2 separate regions of the Homo sapiens genome follow, and region 2 is linked to region 1. The links are contacts of gene promoters, found by promoter capture Hi-C in human tissues and cell types (Jung and others, 2019). All regions are on one chromosome and are shown on one strand. The core of a region is centred on a gene start or on the middle of the fragment in contact, and the rest is flanking DNA. Distances in the headings are between cores, read along the strand shown. Region 1 has its middle 4.3 kb from the start of MED1. Region 2 holds the start of MIEN1 (migration and invasion enhancer 1).

What was found. The method cuts DNA at HindIII sites, captures the fragments that hold promoters and counts their contacts. A contact is called where the count stands out against the background at its distance.
Region 2: a contact is called between the fragment with the promoter of MIEN1 here and a fragment that was not itself captured in region 1, in 2 of the 25 tissues and cell types used here (aorta and liver).

What each region holds. Positions count from the first base shown.
Region 1 is chr17:39,452,541-39,458,571 of GRCh38, reverse strand. No RefSeq gene overlaps it. Among named protein-coding and RNA genes, the nearest start is that of MED1, 4.3 kb to the right of the region's middle. The HindIII fragment of the contact is 5,170 bases long and covers 376-5,545 here.
Region 2 is chr17:39,727,379-39,734,106 of GRCh38, reverse strand. It overlaps MIEN1 (migration and invasion enhancer 1), which reads left to right and starts at 3,575. Exons shown (of 4, transcript NM_032339.5): 1 at 3,575-3,700; 2 at 3,816-3,913; 3 at 4,346-4,422; 4 at 4,502-5,597. The coding sequence starts at 3,612. The coding sequence ends at 4,585. ERBB2 (erb-b2 receptor tyrosine kinase 2) reads right to left here. Exons shown (of 27, transcript NM_004448.4): 26 at 6,560-6,728; 27 at 5,449-6,418. The coding sequence ends at 6,063. RefSeq lists a silencer at 3,334-3,893. The HindIII fragment of the contact is 5,525 bases long and covers 1-3,854 here.

The DNA.
Region 1 (6,031 bases), core at 1,711-4,210:
AGAGGCCAAGCACTGTGGCTCATGCCTGTAATCCCAGCACTTTGGGAGGCCGAAGTGGGAGGACCACTTGAGGTCAGCAGTTCAAGACCAGCCTGGCCAACACAGTGAAATCCTATCTCTACTAAAAATACAAAAATTAGTCAGGCGTGGTGGTGATCGCCTGTAATCACAGATATTCAGGAGGTTGAGACAGGAGAATCGCTTGAACCCAGAACGCAGAAGTTGCAGTGAGCCAAGATCGTGCCACTGCGCTCCAGCCTGGGTGACAGAGCAAGACTCTGTTTCAAAAACAAACAAACAAACAACAAAAAAATATATATATATTTATATATACACACACACAAAAATTAGCCAGGCATGGTGGCATATGCCTGTAATTCCAGCTACTCAGGAGGCTGAGGCATGAGAATCACTAGAACCTGGGAGGCAGAGGTTGCAGTGAGCTAAGATTGCACCACTGCATTCCAACCTGGGCAACAGAGTGAGAATCCATCTAAAAAAAAAAAAAAGTGGCTAACAAAAAGAAAAAAGGGCTGAGTGTGGTGGCTGACATCTGTAAAACCAACAATTTGGAAGGCCAACATGGAAGGAATTCGTGAGCCCAGAAATTGGAGACCAGCCTGGGCAACATGTTGAGACATCTGTCTCTACAAAAAAATACAAGAAATGACAGGCCGAGCAAGGTGGCTCATGCCTGTAATCCCAGCAATTTGGGAGGCCGAGGCAGGCAAATTGCCTGAGTTCAGGAGTTTGAGACCAGCCTGGGCAACACGGTAAAACCCCATCTCTACTAAAATACAAAAGAAATTAGCCGCCGGGCTTGGTGGCTCACGCCTGTAATCCCAGCACTTTGGGAGGCTGAGGCGGGCGGATCACCTGAGGTCGGGAGTTCGAGACCAGCCCGACCAACATGGAGAAACCCCGTCTCTATTAAAAATACTAAAAAATTAGCTGGGCATGGTGGCCCATGCTTGTAATCCCAGCTACTCGGGAGGCTGAGGCAGGAGAATCGCTTGAACGCAGGAGGCGGAGGTTGCAGTGAGCCGAGATTGGGCCATCGCACTCCAGCCTGTGCAACAAAAGAGAAACTCTGTCTCAAAAAAAAAAAAAAAAATTAGCCAGGCGTAGTGGTGTGGGCCTGTATTCTCAGCTATTCGGGAGGCTGAGGCAGGAGAATTGCTTGAACCCAGGAGGCAGAGCTTGCAGTGAGCCAAGATCACGCCACTGCACTCCAGCCTGGGCGACAGAGCGAGACTCCGTCCCTACCAAAAACAAACAAACAAAAACAAGAAATTAACCAGGCATGGTGTTGCTTGCCTATAGTCCCAGCTACTATGAGGCTGAGATGGGAGGATCACTTGAGCCCAGGAGGTCAAGGCTGCAATGAGCCATGATCATGCCACTGCACTCCAGCCTGGGTAACAGAACAAGAACCTGCCTCAAAAAAGAAAAGAAAAAAGAAAAACACGGGCCAGGCATGGAGGCTCACGCCTGTAATCCCAGTACTTTGGGAGGCCGAGGCAAGCAGATCACCTGAGGTCAGGAGTTCAAGACCAGCCTGACCAACAAGAAGAAACCCCGTCTCTACTAAAAATACAAAAATTAGCCCAGCGTGGTGGCACATGCCTGTAATCTCAGCTACTAGGGAGGCTGAGGCAGGAGAATTGCTTGAACCCGGGAGGTGGAGGTTGCGGTGAGATGAGATGGTGCCATTGCACTCAGCCTGGGCAACAAGAGTGAAACTGTCTCCAAAAAAAAAAAAAAAAAAGAAAAGAAAAGAAAAACACAAGTACTGGAACTCAGTTGTGAACACTCCTTATTCACCGCTATAGGAGGATAGGACACCCTGGATATATTTTCTTGAGACAAGGTCTTGCTGTGCTGCCCAGGCTGGAGTACAGTGTTGCCAGGACAACCTGGATTTATTTTCTTGAGACAAGGTCTTGCTCTGTTGCCCAGGCTGGAGTACAGTGGTATGACCATGACACACTGCAGTCTTTTTTTTTTTTTTTTTGAGATGAAGTCTCGCTCTTGTCCCCCAGGCTGGAGTGCAATGGCACGATCTCGGCTCAGTGCAAGCTCCACCTCCTGGGTTCAAGTGATTCTCCTGCCTCAGCCTCCTGAGTAGCTGGGATTACAGGCGCCTGCCACCATGCCCGGCTCATTTTTGTATTTTTAGTAGAGATGGGGTTTCGCCATGTGGCTAGGCTGGTCTCGAACTCCTGACCTCAGGTGATCCACCCACCTTGGCCTCCCAAAGGGCTGGGATTACAGGTGTGAACCACTGTGTCCGGCTGACACACTGCCATCTTCACTTCCTGAGCTCAAGCAATCCTCCAGCCTCAGCCTCTCCTGGCTGGGATTACAGGTGTAAGCCACAGAGCCTGGCTAATTTTTTTTTTATTTTTTGTAAAGACGGGGTCTTGCTATGTTGCCCAGGCTGCTCTTGAAGTCCTCGGCTCAAGGGATCCTCCCACCTGGACTCCCAAGATGCTCGGAATACAGGCATGGGCCACTGTGTCTGGCCTTGAATGTTTTACATGATGACAGATGGCATGAGACTTCCTGGGCTGATTAAATGTAGTGACCAGTCAGCCATAGTAAGTGTTGGCATGGGTTTGTTGTCATGAGTTCAATAAAATTCACCCTGATTTTTCTGTCTTTTAAATGAGATCAGGTTTTTATTTTTAATTTCTTTTTTTGAGATGGAGTCTTGCTCCGTTGCCAGGCTGGAGTGCGGTGGCACTATCTTGGCTCACTGCAACCTCTGCCTCTCTGATTCAAGCGATCCTCCTGCCTCAGCCTTCTTAGTAGCTGGGATTACAGGCACACGCCACCATGCCTGGCTAATTTTTGTATGTTTAGTAGAGACGGGGTTTCACCATGTTGATCAGGCTGGTCTTGAACTCCTGACCTCATGATCCACCCGCCTTGGCCTCCCAAAGGGCTGGGATTACAGGTGTGAGCCACCATGCCTGGCCTTTTTTTTGGGATGGAGTCTCCCTCTGTTGCCTAGGCTGGAGTGCAATGGCTTCATCTCGGCTCACTGCAACCTCCGCCTCCCAGGTTCAAGCAATTCTCTGCCTCAGCCTTCTCAGTAGCTGGGATTACAGGCGCCTGCCACCATGTTCAGATGATTTTTTTTTAATTTTTAATAGAGACGTGGTTTCACCATCTTGGCCAGGCTGGTCTTGAACTCCTGACCTTGTGATCACCCCCCGCCTTGGCCTCACAAAGTGCTGGGATTACAGGTGCAAGCCACTGTGCCTGGCTGAGATCAAGTTTTTAATTCACGATGTACCCACAGTAGAATGGAAAAGTGAAGACGACAGAAGGCATCGGTGATGTGTCAAAATCTGGAAGAATTAAATTGATTATCCAGATTAAACACCAGCAGAAACTTTTTTTCTTTTTTTGAGACGGAGTCTCACTCTGTCACCTAGGTTGGAGTGCAGTGGTGCGATCTCGTCTCGCTGCAAGCTTCGCCTCGATCTCGGCTCACTGCAAGCTCCGCCTCCCGGATTCACACCATTCTCCTATCTCAGCCTCCCAAATGGCTGGGATTACGGGTGCCTGCCACCATGCCCGGCTAATTTTTTGTATTTGTAGTAGAGACCGGGTTTCACTGTGTTGGCCAGGATGGTCTTGATCTCCTGACCTCGTGATCTGCTCGCCCCGGCCTCCCAAAGTGTTTGTATTACAGGCGTGAGCCACTGCACCTGGCTGAACCTTTCAAAATTATCTGTTACTGCCTCTTGAAGCCAATTAGAGACCAGTAACTAATGAAAGAATGAAGCTTTATCCCTGAAACTTTGAACTTATAATATCTTGAATTTCTATAGCACTTTAAAATTTTTCACGGAACTCTTTTAATCCCGTCAATAAATTTCAATTGAATAAATAAACTAATGAAATTATGTTATTTTTATTACTATTTTTATTTTTTTTTTTGAGACTAAGTCTCCCTCTGTCGCCCAGGCTGGAGTGCAGTGGCACGATTACAGGCATGAGCCACCACACCGCACCAGGCCTATTATTATTATTATGCTTATTGAGAACAGTTTCAATCTGTGGCCTAGGCTGGAGTGCACTGGCAGGATCTTGGCTCACTGCAACCTCCACCTCCCAGGTTCAAGCAATTCTCCTGCCTCAGCCTCCCAAATAGCTGGGATTACAGGCATGCGCCACCATGCCCGGCTAATTTTTTTGTATTATTTTGTATTTTGTATTATTAGTAGAGACAGACTTTGGCCATGTTGGCTAGGCTGTTCTCGAACTCCTGACCTTAAGTGATCCACCCACCTCAGCCTCCCAAAGGGCTGGGATTATAGGCGTGAGCCACTTATTATCGACATCTAATATAGGTTAAACTGACACTGAGAAGGAGTTAGATTGGACCATGTTGACACTTAAGTGTAGAAAGTGCCTGGAGCCGGGACACCTCACTTCTACATACTAAACCAGTACTTTGTATTGAACTACCCTTCCTTCCTCCCTCCCTCCCTTCCTTCCTTCTTTTCCTTTCTTTCTCTCTCTCTCTTTCTTTTAGATAATCTCCCTAACATGGTATTCCTCTTTTTGGTGAATAAAATTCTGCAGCAGAAAATCTCAGGCTGTATCTAAATTTTAAAATACAATATCTACTGTAAACTGCAGGTATTGATCCAATCTGTGCTTTTGTAAAATAAGGGTTGCTTCATTATACAGAAAAACTTTGAACTCAGAAATTCCAGGACTGCTCCATTTGCTTTATTTGCATAACCTTCAAGGGCAGAGAGTCAGGGCAACTCTGTGAACCCCAAGTGATCAGTCAGGTGATGGCAATACTTAGCCTGCAAATCTACTAAAACAAGTCAGAAAGTTTCCATTTAGGCTGTACACAAGAAGAAATATTTAACTAAAGTTTCAATAGCTCTTTTTCCCCAACAAACCAATTTGTTAGTTTAGATTTTAGGTTTAGAGTCCTCTGGGCCGGGCACAGTGGCTCATGCCTGTAATCGTAACACTTTGGGAGGCCAACGTGGGTGGATTGCCTGAGCTCAAGTTCGAGACCAGCCTGGGCAACATAGTGAAACTCTGTCTCTACTAAAATACAAAAAAATTAGCTGGGTGGTGTGGCATACACCTGTAGTCCCAGCTACTTGGGAGGCTGAGGCAGAAGAATTGCTTGAACCCAGGAGGCGGGGGTTGCAGTGAGCCGAGATTGTGCCACTGCACTCCAGCCTTGGCGACAGAGCGAGACACTGTCTCAAAAAAAAAAAAAAAAAAAAAAAAAAAAAAAGAGTCCTTTGGCGCCTCCTTCAAAGCTTAGTCACTTACAATTTGCCCATTGTACCCATTTTCCTATGTATACTGTTCCTATATGTACCTTGAATACTTTTCTTGTTTAATGACATGGCTTTCTTTTTTTTTTTCAGACTCCGTCTTGCTCTTATTGCCCAGACTGGAGTGCGATGACACGATCTTGGCTCACTGCAACCTCCACTTCCCGGATTGAAGCGATTCTCCTGCCTCAGCCTCCCCAGTAGCTGGGATTACAGGCATGTGTCACCACACCCGGCTAATTTTTTGTATTTTTAGTAGAAATGGGGTTTCACCATTTTGGCCAGGCTGGTCTCGACCTCCTGATCTCAAGTACCTGCCTCAGCCTCCCAAAGGACATTGCTCTCTTATCTTCTAGAGTAGAACTTTTCCAATGGTGTCTCTCATCTGCATTTTCAGATGACAAATGATAACTTCTCATTCCATTCTGTAACCAGAAGTTAGTAAAGTTTATTTATAAGCTTTATAAAGTTAAAAATTTCCTAGCAACACTTAGTACAGACTTTTTTTTTTATTTGTATAGAGTTTCCATGATAAAGTGTAGTTGGGTATCTGGCATTGGTACTTAGGGCATAATAATTAATGAAAAAATTTTGAGCCCCTATGATTATAGTGACCAATCATATTTTCGGAACTCTAAATAAGATTAGCCTATCAAGCGCTAGGGTTGTGTTTTCATGTTTGTTTATTTGTCTGAGACAGAGTCTTG
Region 2 (6,728 bases), core at 2,326-4,825, 270 kb before region 1:
TATAAAATCTATCCAGGCATGGTGGTGCGGGCCTATAGTCCTAGCTACTTGGTGGGGCTGAGGTGTGACAATCACTTGAGCCTGAGAAGTTGGGGCTGCAGTGAGCTGTGATTGTGCTACTGCGCTCCAGTCTGGGTGACAGAGAAAGACACTGTCTCAAAGAAAAGAAAGAAAAAATGAAGCCAGATGAAGTGGCTCATGCCTGTGATCCCAGCACTTTGGGAGGCTGAGGTAGCCAGATCACTTGAGGCCAGAGTTCCAGACCAGCCTTGCCAACATAGCGAAAACAGCCTGGCCATTGCTACTAAAAACACAAAAAATTATCTGGGCTATGGTGGTGCACGCCTGTAATTTCAGCTGCTTGGGAGGCTGAGGCACAAGAATCTCTTGAACCCAGGAAGTGGAGGTTGAAGTGAGCCAAGATTGTGCCACTGCACTCCAGCCTGGGTGACACAGTGAGACCCCTGTCTCAAAAAAAGAAAGAAAGAAAGAAAAAAGAAAAAAAACTAGCCGAAGACTGGGAGAAAATAGTTGCAAATCATATACAACTATATATGGTTGTATATATGGTTGTATATATTTTGGTTGGTATCCAAAATATATAAAGAACTTTTACAAATCAATAATAAAGAGACAAATAAAAATGGGCAAAAGACTTGAATAGATGTTTCTTCAAATAATATGTATATGAATGGCTAATAACTACATGAAAAGATACACGACATAGTCATTAGATAAATGAGAATTAAAACCACAGTTACATACCATGTCATGTCCACTAGGATGGTTATAATCAAAGAGACAGAAAACAAGTATTGGTGAGGATATGGAGAGACAAATCCTCATATATTGCTGGTGGGAAAACTTTGAAAAACAGTCTGGCCATTTCTTAAAATGTTAAATGCTAGCCTGGGCAAAATGGCAAAACCTTGTCTCTACAAAAAATACAAAAAAAAATTAGCTGGGCATGGTGGTGCGTGTCTGTCGTCCCAGCTATTCAGGAGGCTGAGGCAAGAGGATAGCTTGAGTTTAGCAGGTCGAGGCTGCAGTGAGCCATGTTTGCACTGCTGCATTCCAGCGTGGGCAACAGAGCGAGACCCTGTCTCAAAAAAAAAAAAGATAATCATAAATTAAACACAGGACCCAGCAGTTCTACCCTTAGGAATCTACCCAAGAGAAATGAAAACACACACCTATACAAAGACACCTAAACATTTGTAGCAGCATTATTCAAAAAAGACAAAAAAAACTGGAACCCTAAATATCCATCAGCTGGTGAATTAAGAAAAAAATGTGGCATAACCACACAGTGGAATACGACTCAGCAATGAAAAGGAACAAACTACTCTAGACGCTACAGGATGAACGCATTTCAAAAAACATATTGAATGAAAGAACCAGAAGCAAAAGGCCACATAGTGTATTATTCTGTTTATATGAAACATCCAGAAAAGGCAAAGTTAGAGACAGAAAGCAGATCAGTGGTTGCACAGGACTGGAATTGGGAGCTGGATTGACCAGAAACAGGTGGGAAGGACTTATCAGGTTGACGGAAACATTCTGTAACTGGATTGTAGTGATGGTTAGGCAACAGTACAAATCACTGCATTTTCTTTCTTTTCTTTTCTTTTCTTTTTTTTTTGGAACACAGTCTCACTCTGTCACCCAGGCTGGAGTGCAGTGGTGAGATCTCAGCTCACTGCAACCTCCACCTCCCAGGTTCAAGCGATTCTCCTGCCTCAGCCTCTGGAGTAGCTGGTGCGCCACCACACCCAGCTAATTTTTGTATTTTTAGTAGAGACAGGGTTTTGTCGAGTTGGCCAGGCTGGTCTTGAACTCCTGGCGTCAAGTGATCCGCCCACCTTGGCCTCCCAAAACGCTGGGATTACAGGTGTGAGCCACTACGACCTGCCTGGTTTAAAAAAAAAAAAAATGAGCCCGGGTGCAGTGGTTCACACCTGTAATCCCAGCACTTTGGGAGGCCAAGATGGGCAGATCACAACTTCAGGAGTTCGAGACCAGCCTGGCCAACATGGTGAAACCCCATCTGTACTAAAAATAGAAAAATTAGCTGGCTTGGTGGTGGGCACCTGTAATCCCAGCTGCTCAGGAGGCTGAGACAGGAGACTCACTTGAGGCCGGAAGGCAGAGGTTGCAGTAAGCCGAGATCGCACCATTGCACTCCAGCCTGGCCAACAGAGCAAGACTCTGTCTCAAAAAAATAATAATAATAGTAATACAAAAGTTAGCTGGGCGTGGTGGCTGGCACCTATGATCTCAGCTACTAGGGAGACTGAGGCAGGAGAATCGCCTGAACCCAGGAGGTGGAGGTTGCAGTGAGCCAAGATCGCGCCACTGCACTCAAGCTTGGGTGACAGAGTGAGACTCCATCTCAAAATAAATAAATAAATAAATAAATAGCCTAAAGGGACACTAGAGTGGGTGGCGTGTTAGGATACCATAGTGGTACTGTAGGCAGGGAAAAGGCAGCGAGGACTTGTGCAGACTCCATTTCCAGAGCTGCAAAATGGGAATAATGACGCCAGCCCCCCAGTGAGAGGCTGGATGAGAAGGGATGCGCAGAAACTGTTGGGGGCACAGAGCCTGAAGAGCATCTACTGTTTTCCAGTGCAGGCAAGAAGCAGCTGCAAAAGACTGGAAAAAGCAGTTTAGAGCTTTGGGATCAGAAACACTTGTGTATGTAACTACAGGGTGGTTCCAAATGCCATCAGCACCGGGCGTGGTGGCTCACGCCTGTAATCCCAGCACTTTGGGAGGCCAAGGCAGGCAGATCATTTGAGGTCAGGAGTTCGAGACCAGTCTGGCGAACATGGTGAAACCCTGTCTCTACTAAAACAAACAAACAAACAAACAAAAAACTGGGCCAGGCGCGGTGGCTCATGTCTGTAATTCCAGCACTTTAGGAGGCCGAGGCTGGTGGATCACCTGAGGTCAAGAGTTCGAGACCAGCCTGACCAACATGATGAAACCCTGTCTCTACTAAGAATACAAAATTAACCGGGTGCGGTGGCACGCGCCTGTAGTCCCAGCTACTCGGGAAGCTGAGGCAGAAGAATCGCTTGAACCCGGGAGGCAGAGGTTGCAGTGAACCGAGATCGCGCCATTGCACTCCAGCCTGGGCAACAAGAGCGAAACTCCGTCTCAAAAAAAAAAAAAAAAAAAATGCCATCGGCATGTTAGCGAGAAAATGTCAACTATTTCATGCATCAGCCACACCCACCCCCATCCCCAGGATGCTTGCCCCACCACTTTCTCTTTCTTTTGTAAACTGAAAAGCGCTTTGCAGTCTAAGATAGTCCATTAGAGTAAATGAAGCCATGAAGTCCAGCGGACACCGGGAGTGGGGAGTGGGGAAGCCCGGCACTCCGGGAGACCGGGCCAGGGAAGGAGGGTCTGGACCGGACCCAGCCCCTGCCCGGGGAGCGAGCTCCGGAGCTGCCCTACGAGGTCAAAACGTAGCAGTGGCGGAGACCCGCAGGGGGCGCCCGAACGCCACCCTCGGCCCCTCCCCGCTCCAGAGGCCCCGCCCCGTCACGTGCCCGCGGTTCGCGTCACACCCGGAAGCAGGGGCCCGAGCGGAGCCGGCCGCGATGAGCGGGGAGCCGGGGCAGACGTCCGTAGCGCCCCCTCCCGAGGAGGTCGAGCCGGGCAGTGGGGTCCGCATCGTGGTGGAGTACTGGTGAGCGGCCCCGGCTGGAGGACCCGCACCCTGGTCCCGCGGGCCGGACGGAGGTGGGTCCACGGGAGGCCCCACCCCCGAATCCCCAGCCCAGCCCCATCTCTTGACTCCCCAGTGAACCCTGCGGCTTCGAGGCGACCTACCTGGAGCTGGCCAGTGCTGTGAAGGAGCAGTATCCGGGCATCGAGATCGAGTCGCGCCTCGGGGGCACAGGTGAGGCTCGCAGAACACCTGCTGGGTCAGTCTGTGCTCTGAATCCCAGCTCTCCCGCTTTCTAGTTCTGACATTGGCTGCTTTATGTAAAGTGCCCGCAGTGCCTGGCACATGGTAAAATGTCCGGCCAACATGAGTTCCCTTCCATAGGTCAGGGGGTGTCACAGAGGCCTGTGGGGAAAAACCTATTAGACTGCAATCGTGTAGGGTTGGAGGGGAGGGAGTCCTTTATTGAGTGTTGCGAGGGGCACACAGGCGAGGCCTCCCTCAGGTTCCCTGGAGTTGACCCAGGGTTGGGGAATTGCTTAAGGAGCTACAAATGGGTCTCCAGTGGGATTGATGGGGGACTTGAAGGCGGGGGACCCCTTTGGAGGAACTCCTGACTTCTGCCTATGTTCTCAGTGTACCATTTATCTGTTGATTTCTTACCAGGTGCCTTTGAGATAGAGATAAATGGACAGCTGGTGTTCTCCAAGCTGGAGAATGGGGGCTTTCCCTATGAGAAAGATGTGAGTATTTACAGCGTTGGGAGGACCTCTTGGTCACCCTACCCCAACAGTGCATCATCCTGTCATTCCACTCCTCTAGCTCATTGAGGCCATCCGAAGAGCCAGTAATGGAGAAACCCTAGAAAAGATCACCAACAGCCGTCCTCCCTGCGTCATCCTGTGACTGCACAGGACTCTGGGTTCCTGCTCTGTTCTGGGGTCCAAACCTTGGTCTCCCTTTGGTCCTGCTGGGAGCTCCCCCTGCCTCTTTCCCCTACTTAGCTCCTTAGCAAAGAGACCCTGGCCTCCACTTTGCCCTTTGGGTACAAAGAAGGAATAGAAGATTCCGTGGCCTTGGGGGCAGGAGAGAGACACTCTCCATGAACACTTCTCCAGCCACCTCATACCCCCTTCCCAGGGTAAGTGCCCACGAAAGCCCAGTCCACTCTTCGCCTCGGTAATACCTGTCTGATGCCACAGATTTTATTTATTCTCCCCTAACCCAGGGCAATGTCAGCTATTGGCAGTAAAGTGGCGCTACAAACACTAATGCTAACTAGTGTGTGTTTTTATACGTCCAGTCTGGGAATGTGGGGGGCACAGAAGTCCGGTCAGCCCAGCCTTTGCACCGCCAGGGTGGCTGTGCTGGCTGGGTGGGCTTTCTGGACAGCTACTCCTTAGGTCAGTGAGCTCCTCTGGCATAGCCAAGGCAAGGAAAATGAGTCCCACAGTAGACCCTGCCTCGTCTTTCCCCCACCCTACCCACCACTCTCCTCACTCACAAGGAGGAAATAACCCCATTCTGGTGAGTGGCCTTAGGAATTAGTTCGTTCTAAATAAGAATGATCTGGTCGTCAAAGGGCTCTCAGATCTGAATCCAGCTTCCCGATCTCCCCCAACCCTGAAGCTGGAGAACTGGATGTCTGGCTCCTCATCCAAGCTTTCTGAAGATTCCCAGCCACTCCCTCCAGGAAAAGAGGAATTGAGTGTAAGGTGAGCAGGAAGGGATGGCACAGAGCCACCCCCAGACATAGGCCGGTGCCTAGCTGTTTTCCAAAATATATTTGCAAATGGACAAAGTGGGTGTGGAGAAGGACCCCCCACACTTGCCTCCCCATACAACACCCATTCTCCCCCTGGGTCTTTATTTCATCTTTAAAAAAACAAAACAAAAAAAGTAAAAACTAAACAGAAAAGCACTCTGTACAAAGCCTGGATACTGACACCATTGCTGTTCCTTCCTCATGGGGGGCAGTACTAGGTTTCAGGGACAGTCTCTGAATGGGTCGCTTTTGTTCTTAGACACTCCCTTAGGGCCGCTTCCCCTCTCAGGCCAGCTTCCCTAAGGCTTTCAGTACCCAGGATCTGGAAGGAAAGGGCCAAGCTGGGCTGTGGCATCCACTGGACCCTAGAGTCTCATTGGGCAGGGCCTCAGAATCCACAAAGACTCCCCAGTGCTGTTCCTCTTCCAACGAGGCTGGACCCCTTCCAGCCATCTGGGAACTCAAGCAGGAAGGAAGGTTCCTTAGGACAGGTTCCTGGCATGGCAGGTTCCCCTGGAAGTGGTCGGAGGGCCCTCCCACCTCTTGATGCCAGCAGAAGTCAGGCCTTCCCTGCTCCCTGAGGACACATCAGGGCTTCTGCGGACTTGGCCTTCTGGTTCACACTGGCACGTCCAGACCCAGGTACTCTGGGTTCTCTGCCGTAGGTGTCCCTTTGAAGGTGCTGGGTGGAGCCCCCCGCTCTGGTGGGTCCTGGTCCCAGTAATAGAGGTTGTCGAAGGCTGGGCTGAAGGCAGGAGGAGGGTGGGGCTGAGGGGCAGCTCCTCCCTGGGGTGTCAAGTACTCGGGGTTCTCCACGGCACCCCCAAAGGCAAAAACGTCTTTGACGACCCCATTCTTCCCTGGGGAGAGAGTCTTGGGCCTTTCCAGAGTGGCACCAGCAGGTCGGGCAGCAGGCAGAGGGCCCTCTCGGGGCGAAGGGGGCTGGGGCCGAACATCTGGCTGGTTCACATATTCTGAAAGGTCAAGAGAAGGTGACCCATTAGGGGAAGGAACCCCGGTGTCTCTGCCACTCCCTCTGCCCCCACAGTGGACCCTGGGCTGAAGGTCCCACCTCCCCTGCCCATCAGTCTCTCTGCTTAGACTGGACTCCATACCAGGCTGGGGGCTGCAGGTCAGGGGGGCAACGTAGCCATCAGTCTCAGAGGGCAGGGGTACTGTGGGGTCCTCACTGTACCGCTGTAGAGGGCTGGGGTCATGTGTGGGGAGGCTTTGCAGCCCCTTGGCTGCCCCCATTCCCAGGTCACCATCAAATACATCGGAGCC